Linked DNA regions of Homo sapiens: region 2 is linked to region 1. Evidence: promoter capture Hi-C in 16 types of primary human blood cells and fetal thymus (Javierre and others, 2016). All regions are on one chromosome and are shown on one strand. The core of a region is centred on a gene start or on the middle of the fragment in contact, and the rest is flanking DNA. Distances in the headings are between cores, read along the strand shown. Region 1 holds the start of RARS2 (arginyl-tRNA synthetase 2, mitochondrial). Region 2 holds the start of MDN1 (midasin AAA ATPase 1).

Evidence for each region. Contacts are between HindIII fragments. The CHiCAGO score rates a contact against its expected background, and 5 or more counts as called.
Region 2: the fragment with the promoter of MDN1 here is called in contact with the fragment with the promoter of RARS2 in region 1 in 1 of 17 cell types (fetal thymus); the score reaches 6.8 in fetal thymus.

The regions. Positions count from the first base shown.
Region 1 is chr6:87,586,966-87,591,542 of GRCh38, reverse strand. RARS2 (arginyl-tRNA synthetase 2, mitochondrial) reads left to right here and starts at 1,556. Exons shown (of 20, transcript NM_020320.5): 1 at 1,556-1,621. The coding sequence starts at 1,586. It overlaps ORC3 (origin recognition complex subunit 3), which reads right to left and starts at 1,408. Exons shown (of 20, transcript NM_012381.4): 1 at 1,351-1,408. The coding sequence starts at 1,374. RefSeq lists enhancers at 1-91, 1,472-1,701, 1,465-2,426. The HindIII fragment of the contact is 3,839 bases long and covers 1-3,701 here.
Region 2 is chr6:89,818,158-89,822,542 of GRCh38, reverse strand. MDN1 (midasin AAA ATPase 1) reads left to right here and starts at 2,749. Exons shown (of 102, transcript NM_014611.3): 1 at 2,749-3,037. The coding sequence starts at 2,936. RefSeq lists enhancers at 1,812-2,431, 2,432-3,051, 2,706-3,095, 3,672-4,291, 4,292-4,385. The HindIII fragment of the contact is 1,090 bases long and covers 2,007-3,096 here.

The sequences.
Region 1 (4,577 bases), core at 307-2,806:
TTCAAAACCTACAGAACATTATAACCAGGACAAAATAAAACCAGTACCATTTCTAATAAAAATACTACCTTTGAATCTCTACTAGCATAACCTTAAACCCCAGGGCTTGTCCTTTTTCCTTGAGATGTAGTCTTTAAAAGCACTGCTTCTCATAAACCGTTTTAATCAAAATAAAAAATCAGATCCATGACATAGCCTTCTTCATCAATCCATTGTTTTAACATAGGGAGAATGTAGCTTCTTCATGTGCATTTTTCAGCTTTCTCAGACAGCTTAACTTCAGGGGCTTCCCGCTGCACTTACAATAGAACTCAAGGTCTTACTTTTTGTGGTCCAGAACAGCGCTGTCCAACAGAACTTTCTGTAATGATAGAAATGTCCTATATCTGCACTATCTAAAATGGTAGCTGCAGCCACATGTGATGATTGAGCACTTGAAATGTGGTTAGTGCAACGGAGAAACTGAATTTTTATTTAATCTTACTTTATTTTAACTCAAATTTAAATAGCCACATGTGGTGAGTGACTAACACATTGGACAATACAGCTCTAGGGCTTATCTTCTTACCAACTACACTATGTCTTGCAATTTCTTGCCATCTAGGTAGCCAACATGAGGAGGTCTATAAGATATCCCACCACACACACCCGCATCCACATTACTTTTTCATTCTCATTTTTCATGACGCTCCCACTCTTTGTCTACTTTCTGATTATGATTTTTAAATTCCTCTAATATGCCATTTTATTTCTATCTTCTGGGCCGAAGAAACATGCTGTTCTCTCTGCCCTCCTCGCCCTAATCCTTAACCTAACTTCTACTCATTTTTCAGGTCTCAGCGAAAGGGTCACTTTCTCCAAAAAGCCTCCGCTAACCCCCGACAACCTATATTAGGTTCTTCCCACTCTTCTGTTGTCTGCCTAGAACTCTTTTCCTTGCTAACACTTAAAATTTGTGATCGTCAGTTTATCTATGTTTACCGACTTTCTTGACTGCAGAAACTGAATCTGTTTTGTTTACCACTGCATCTTGGTACCTAACGGAGTGCTTGGCGCACAGTATTTGTGAGATGGAAAAATGAGAGACTGGGCCACATCATCAGGACATCCGACCTCCACCAACCAGAACTTAAAAATCCTCCTAGCCATACCACAAGGCAGATCCGCGTCCTCGCTCCCCAAGCAAAGTTGGCCTCAACTGATCTGGAGCAAGGACGCCTCAGCTCAGTACGCCGCTCCCTCCCTCCTCTCCAGCCAGGGAAGGGATGCCTACGTAACCTCGGCTTCATCCCTTCTTCAAAGGGGAATGAGGCAGCGGTAGAGCCACAGTGCGCATCGGCCACCACATACCTTAGACATCGAGGACGTAGCCATGGTCTTACTGACTCTGCGTATTCCAGATGCACTCGGGATTTCCCGCGCGCCCTCGCGGCTGCAGGGCAGAGGTTAGTGGCGAGCCACACGGCTCCTTGATTGGCTGGCATCACCCTCCGGGGCGGGTTTCCGGCGCGGGGAGGCGGGTCGTATAAGGAGGTGGGGCGAGGCCGGAACTGGCGGACTGCGGCGCACTTCCGTAGAGGTGGACATGGCGTGCGGCTTTCGCCGCGCTATTGCTTGCCAGGTATGGATCCCGGAGCGCGCAGAGGAGTCCCTGAGGAGCTAGGGACCCCAAAGGCCTTTCACCGCTGCGGGCCAGTCCTCAGTCAGCTGGAGGGTGGGTCCCACGGAATCCTGTTAGTTTCTACCACCTCCTCCCCCTTCTCTGGAGCTGGTGGAGCTTCAGAAGTCCTGTGGAGCGTCGGCTGGGATCAGTTTGTCTCGGTGAAAAGTAAACTTTGAAAGGTACCTGGTGCTTTCTTCTCTCCTTCCCACCCCACAGCTATGAATGCTTTACCTGGGTGGCGGCAAGTCATTAGACCATGATTAGACCCCATAGAAGTTAGTGTTCTTTACACTTTAGTGACATTGATGATGGATCTGGATTGTTCTTCAGAAGGACCTCATTTTAAAGCTGCTTATTTCTCTTGCAGTCACTTAGGCAGCCTACCCTAGAATTGTTTTTGGTAACGCCCAAAGATATAAGAGCTATCTGAGACTCAGTTTTTCTTGGTTCAGGGTCGTATTTGAACAGCTCTGTTGTGAGGAAGGGCTTACAAAATTGCAATATAATTGCTTTGTTTTGTTTTTCCTTTTTGTGGAGAACGGGGTCTCGCCGTATTGCCCAGGCAGGCCTCAAACTCCTGGGCTCAAGCTGTCCTCCCTCCTCTGCTTCCCTAAGAGCCGGGATTACAGGCCTGAGCCACCGCGCTGGGCAAAATTGCAGTATAAATGTGGAATTAATCAAAAAGAATTTTTAAGACTCATTGGCCACCCTTGCAAGGAAACTTTCTATTGTGGTCTTGGCTAACCCATTTCCTTCTGATTAATGGATGTACTAGTGGACGTAATTAGCCTGGTGTATAATTTATCTTGGCTCATTTTTACAGTATTTCTAGACATTTGTGGGGAAATCCCTCTGCCTTGTCTTTATGTTTATAGATGTACTGCCCTGTCCGGTGATAATTCGCCAAATATCACCAACATGACATTTTGTTAAGACAGCTGAATTTATTGCTCACTGGGATAAGGAAGAACACCACTGAGAGCTTTGGTAGTGTATTAAACTGGGAAAGCAAGGTCAGATTTTACTGATGGGTATGGCTTAAGGCTGGTCTTTCAGAGGGAGAGGGTAGGAGGGTGTTGGAGGAAGATGGCTTGATTAGGGTTGGACTCTGATCTGATACAGCGGTTTAAGATTGATAGGAAAAGCAAAGAGTGCAAGAAGCCTTAAGGCATAAACTATTGAGGTTTTCTATTGGAAGAACTAATAGGCCTGGCATGTGGTTCATGCCTATAATCCCAGCACTTTGGGAGGCCAAGGTGGGAGGATGGCTTGAGCCCAGGAGTTCGAGACCAGCGTGGACAACATAGGTAGACCCCGTCTCAACAAAATTTTTTTTAAAAAGTAGCCAGGCATGATGGTGCACCTCTGTAGTCCTAGCTGCTTGAAAGGCTGAGTCTGGAGGATCACTTGGACGGACCCACGAGTTTGAAGCTACAGTGAGCTATGATTGTGCCACTGCACTCCAGGGTGGGTGACAGAGCGAGACCCTGTAAACAAAAAATAAAAATAAAAAACGTGAAAAGCTAATAGATTTCTCATGAAGTTCTTATAATGAATGATTAAGTTATTTGGGCAGAAGTCTTCTAGAACAGTAAAGTTATGCTAATGAAGACAAAAAATAATAAATTCATGTTAATGTAGACAGTAAACCATATCAGGGAAGGTAGTTTTGGACCTTAGTATCTAAGCTGTGTGTAAGGGTGGACGTTTTCCATTCTTAGCCCTTAAGTAAAGATAGTGCCATGATGAGAAACAAATTGTGTTTAGTTTTGCAAAGGCTGTGTTCTTTGTAAAGACTGTAAATTGGACCAGGCATGGTGGCTCACACTTGTAATCCCAGAACTTTGAGAGGCCGAGGTGGGAGGATCCCTTGAACTGAGACGTTCAAGACCAGCCTGGGCAACATAGGGAGACCCCCATCTCTATAAAGAAATAAAAAACAAAACTTAGGTGTAGTGGCACACACCTGTGGTCCCAGCTGCTTGGGAAGCTGAGGTGGGAGGATCGTTTGGGCCCAGGTGGCTGAAACTAGCAAGCTTTGATTGCACCGCTGCACTTCAGCCTGGGGGACAAAGTGAGTCCCTGTCTCAAAAAAAAGAAAAAGATAAGTTGGAGAAACAAGAACTAATATATTGAGTATATATTTGTGCTAGTTACTACACATTCACATTTAAGCTCATGGCAACCCTGTGATATAGAAGTATTAACCTTATTATATAATTGAGTCAGTTGAGATCCACAGAGATTAAATAACTTACCCAAAGCCACATCATCAATACATTGTAGAGTTGGTTTATGAACAGAACTCTAACTTTAAAATTAGATCTTTCCTATATACTGTGCTCTTTGTGAAAGCAAGAAGCACAGTCCAATCATTGAACAGAATCTAATGGATTTATACAGCAGTGTAAATTATGCAGATATATATGTATTTCTCTGAATATAGAGTCATTGGGGAATGATCTGAAACTTGAGGATAAATAATAATATTTTCAATACGTTAGGACATGGGGAAAAAAGAGCAAAGAAAAAACATGTTCCGTACAGTTTGAGCATCCCTAAGCTGGAAATCTGAAATGCTCCAAAATTTGAAACTTTTTGAGTGCTGACATGAGACTCAATGTTCATTGAGTTCATTGGAGCTCAATTGGAAATTGGAAATGTTCATTGGAGAATTCCAGATTTTCAGATTAGGAGCTGGGTATGGTGGCTCATGCCTATAACCCCAGCACTTGGAGAGACTGAGACAGGCAGATCACTTGAGCCCAAGAGTTCAAGACCAGCCTGGGAAACTAATTAGAAAATTAGTTGGGCATGGTGGCACCCTCCTGTAATCCCAGATACTTGGGAGGCTGAGGTGGAAGGATCACTTGAACCTGAGAGGTGGAGGTTGCAATGAGCCAAGATTGTGCCA
Region 2 (4,385 bases), core at 1,500-3,999, 2.2 Mb before region 1:
TCACCGCAACCTCTGCCTCCTGGGTTCAAGTGATTCTCCTGCCTCAGCCTCCCAAATAGCTGGGACTACAGGCACGTGCCACCACGCCCGGCTAATTTTTGTATTTTTAGTAGAGATGGGGTTTCACCATGTTGGCCAGGCTGGTCTCGAACTCCTGACCTCAGGTGATCTGCCCGCCTTGGCCTGCCAAAGTGCTGGGATTACAGGTGTGAGCCACCGTGCCCGGCCAATTTTTGTATTTTTAGTAGAGATGGGGTTTCACCATCTTGGCCAGGCTGGTCTTGAACTCCTGACCTTGTGATCCACCCGACTCAGCCTCCCAAAGTGCTGAGATTACAGGCTTGAGCCACTGTGCCCTGCCCAGTCTTAGATTTTTATTACCCCCAAATTTTGCCTCCTGGCTGTTTACATTGTCTTCTCTTCTAATCCCAAACTCAGGCAACCACTAACCTGTTCTATTAATTTAATCACCCTAGAGCTGTTCATCTTCCTGCTGCTGCCCAGATGAAAGTTCCGGGATTTCCCTTAACTTTAAACACTTAAAAGTAAAATAATCCCGTGGATTAGGATTACGATCGACAGGGTTATTTTACTTTTTCTTTCTGTGCTAAATCTCTTATTTCCTGGATCCCGTGTCGTCTTCTTTCTTGGTTTTATCCTCCTTTTTCAGGGCGCATCTCTTTCAACAGATTCCTGAGAATAGTTGCCAGGGTGCATTATCACTACATAACTACATTTTTTTTTTTGTCTTTTTCTTTTTTTTGAGACAGAGTTTCGCTCTTGTCGCCCAGGCTGGAGTGCACTGGCACGATGTCCGCTCACTGCAACCTCCGCCTCCCGGGCTCGAGCTATTCTCCTGCCTCAGCCTCCTGAGTAGGTGGGATTACAGGCGCCCACCACTATGCCCAGCTTTTTGTATTTTTAGTAGAGACAAGGTTTCACCATGTTGGCCAGACTGGTCTCAAACTCCCGACCTCGGGTGATCTGCCCGCCTTGGCCTCCCAAAGTGCTGGGATTACAGGCGTGAGCCACCACGCCTGGCCCCACTTAAAAAAAAAAAAAAAAGACGGAGTTTCGCTCTTGTTGCCTAGGCTGGAGTGCAATCCCACGATCTCGGCTCACCACAACCTCCGTCTCCTGAGTTCAAGCGATTCTCCTGCTTCAGCCTCCTGAGTAGCTGGGATTACAGGCATGCACCACCACACCTGGCTAATTTTTGTATTTTTAGTAGAGACAGGGTTTTACCATGTTGGTCAGGCTGGTCTCAAACTGCTGACCTCAGGTGATCTGCCCGCCTCGGCCTCCCAAAGTGCTGGGATTACAGGCGTGAGCCAAGGCACCCAGCCCTAATTTTTGTATTTTTAGTAGAGACAGGGTTTCACCATGTTGGCCAGACTGGTCTCCAACTCCTTATCTCGTGATCTGCCTGCCTTGCCTTGAGCCACTGCGCCCAGCCCACAAGTGCACTTTTAATGTTATGGACTCTACTATTTTTTATGACTTCCAGAATATGCTATAACTTACACCCCATAGTTTAATATTCCCAATTGAACATTTTCTTCCAATATCTGTATTAAGAAAACTGCAAGGGGTGTCTTTGTCACACTTAGTGAGGATTTCCGCAGGCTAGAGTCCTACAAGGGGAATTGCTGGGGCAGAATGTTAACTAGTTAGGTATGAGCAGAACAGGAGAGCGCTCCCCACCCCACACATACCAGGACTATTGGGTGACAATCAAACGATGGTCAGGCGGTTCTTAACTGTTTCTCTAACGTTCACCGGGGCCAGCGAAAGGCAGTCTCCTAATAGAAAACACCTGAAACTGATCAGTAGCTTCCCAGTAAGATCTCAGGAGTGGGGAGAAGCAATGCAAGTTCCCCAAAGTATGCCAACATATAAAACTTCAAGTCAACAGGTCAAGCTGCGCACTTGGTTTCTCAAGTCGCCTGCTTGGCAGTCTTCCAAGTTGTACTTTCCTCCTTTTCTTTCCGTCCCGTTCTAAAGCTTTTTGATAAACTTTTACTTCTATTCTGAAACTTGTCTAGGTCTATCCTGCCTTATGCCCTTCGTGGAATTATTTCTTCTGAGGAGGCAAGAACTAAGGTTACTGCTGACCCCTACCTATACAGGGGGTAACTGCCACCGCTAACAAGAAGGGGAGAATCAGCTTTTCTTTCTTTTTTTGAGACAGTAAAAGTCTGCTGTGTCGCGCGGCTGGAGTGCAGCTGCACGATCTCGGCTTACTGTAACCTCCGTCTCCCGGGTTCAAGCGATTCTCCTGCCTCAGCCTCCCGAGTAGCTGGGACTACAGGCGCGCGCCACCACGCCCGGCTAATTTTTGTATTTTTAGTAGAGAAGGGGGTTTCACCATGTTGCCCAGGCTGGTCTCGAACTGCTAACCTCAAGTGATCTGCCCTCCTCGGCCTCCCAAAATGCTGGGATAAAGACATGCGCCACCGCGCCCGGCCGAGAATCAGCTTTTCTCTCACATCTGATCTTTCCGTGTGTTAAGGCAGAAGCAAGGCACGGTGGGCTGAGACTCACACGCCCCCTCTTTCCTCCCCGGCCTAACGCACTCTTCTTTCTGTCCCACCACGTGCTGTGTTCGCGAGTCCCCATCACTCCTGCATCCAAACCGACTAGATTTTTGTTTCCATTTCCCTCCCGGAAAAGGCGGGACAGCGAAGACTGGCGTTTCCGCCGCTGAGGGGCTGAGGCCGGGAGGGCGCAGCGTAGCCGTCCCGAGCTGATGACGTCAAACGCCGTGTGCTCACCCACGTGTGGTGCCCCTCTCCCGGTGTAGGCGCTGGAGCTGAGGACGCCTTTCCTGCGGGCGTAGTTGCTGGCTGCTCGGGCACTGGGACCTCGGCGGCTTGGGGACGCTGGCCGCGAAGTAGGGAGCGCAGGTGGCCGCTCGGGGTGAGGGCCCTGGGTCATGGAGCACTTCTTGCTGGAGGTGGCAGCCGCGCCGCTGCGGTTAATCGCAGCCAAGAACGAGAAGAGCCGCAGTGAGTTGGGCAGGTTCTTGGCCAAGCAGGTAAGACGTGAAGGGAGAGGGAAAGCGCCGGAACGACTGGGTCGCCCCACTAGTAAGCTTCCTGCGCTCCCCCGCCGATACTCGCCGCTTTAAGTGGGGAGTGGTGCAGCCTCAGGTCAAGCTGGCCCCCTCCTGTGGGCTGGCGCAGGTCGTGGAGGTTTCCGAGCGTGTTTGAGGCGATTGGAAGGAGTCTTTTGTTTTTATCTGGGGGAGCCTTCCAGTACCCTTCCCATCGCCTCTCACCCCTATGCAAGCGCTTTGGCTGCTTGTGGCAGAGGTGGCCTTCCCAAAGGAATGTGGTTTGTTTTTCTGAAATTGAGGTTGCGTTTCTGCCGTTTTGACAAGTGTACGTATCACCTAAGTGTGCGTAGTGCAGCCACTCCTGTTAGTTTGGGGAACCATCGACAAATACTGATTGCATTCCTGCTGTGCGTAAGGAACGGTGTGGCGCTGTGAGAAAGTGGATAGATAAATTCGTTACGATCTCTGCCATGAGGGAAATTTGCATCTGTTTTTGGAGACAGTTCGTAAACACTTACAACAGCTGAAGTACAGAGCAAGACAGCTCATACTCACTGTAACTAACTATACAAATTATAAGGTTAATTAGAGTTTTCTGGGAAATAGGTCTTCGGGCTTTTAAGAACCTTCTCATTGACTCCTTCTATCTGAGTTGAAGACACTTTTTTTTTTTTTTTGAGACGGAGTCTCGCTGTGTCGCCAGGCTGGAGTGCAGTGGCGCGATCTCGGCTTACTGCACCCTCCGCCTCCCGGGTTCAGGCGATTCTCCTGCCTCACCCTCTCAGTAGCTGGGATTACAGGCGAGCGCCACCATGCCTAGCTACTTTTTGTATTTTTAGTAGAGACGGGGTTTCACCATGTTGGCCAGGATGGTCTCGATCTCTTGACCTCGTGATCCACCCGCCTCAGCCTCCCAAAGTGCTGGGATTACAGGCGTGAGCCACGGGACAGGTGAGTGTGGTCCCAGGTACTTGGGTCCCAGGTGTGGCTAATTAAAAAAAAAATTTTTTTTTTGTAGTTGTAAGGTCCCCCTTTGTTGCCCCGACTGGTCTGGAACCCCTGGGCTCAAGTGATCATCCCGCCTTGGCCTCCCAAAGTGCAGGGATTGTAGGAGTGAGCCACCGTGTCCGGCCTAAATTTTTTTTTTTTTTTTTTTTTTTTTTTGAGACGGAGGCACGCTCTGTCGTCCAGACTGGAGTGCAATGGCCCACCCTCTCAGCTCACTGCAACCTCCGCCTCTCGAGTTCAAGCGATTCTTCTGTCTCAACCTCCCGAGTAACTGGGATTACAGGCGTGCGCCACCATGCCTGGCTAATATTTTGTATTT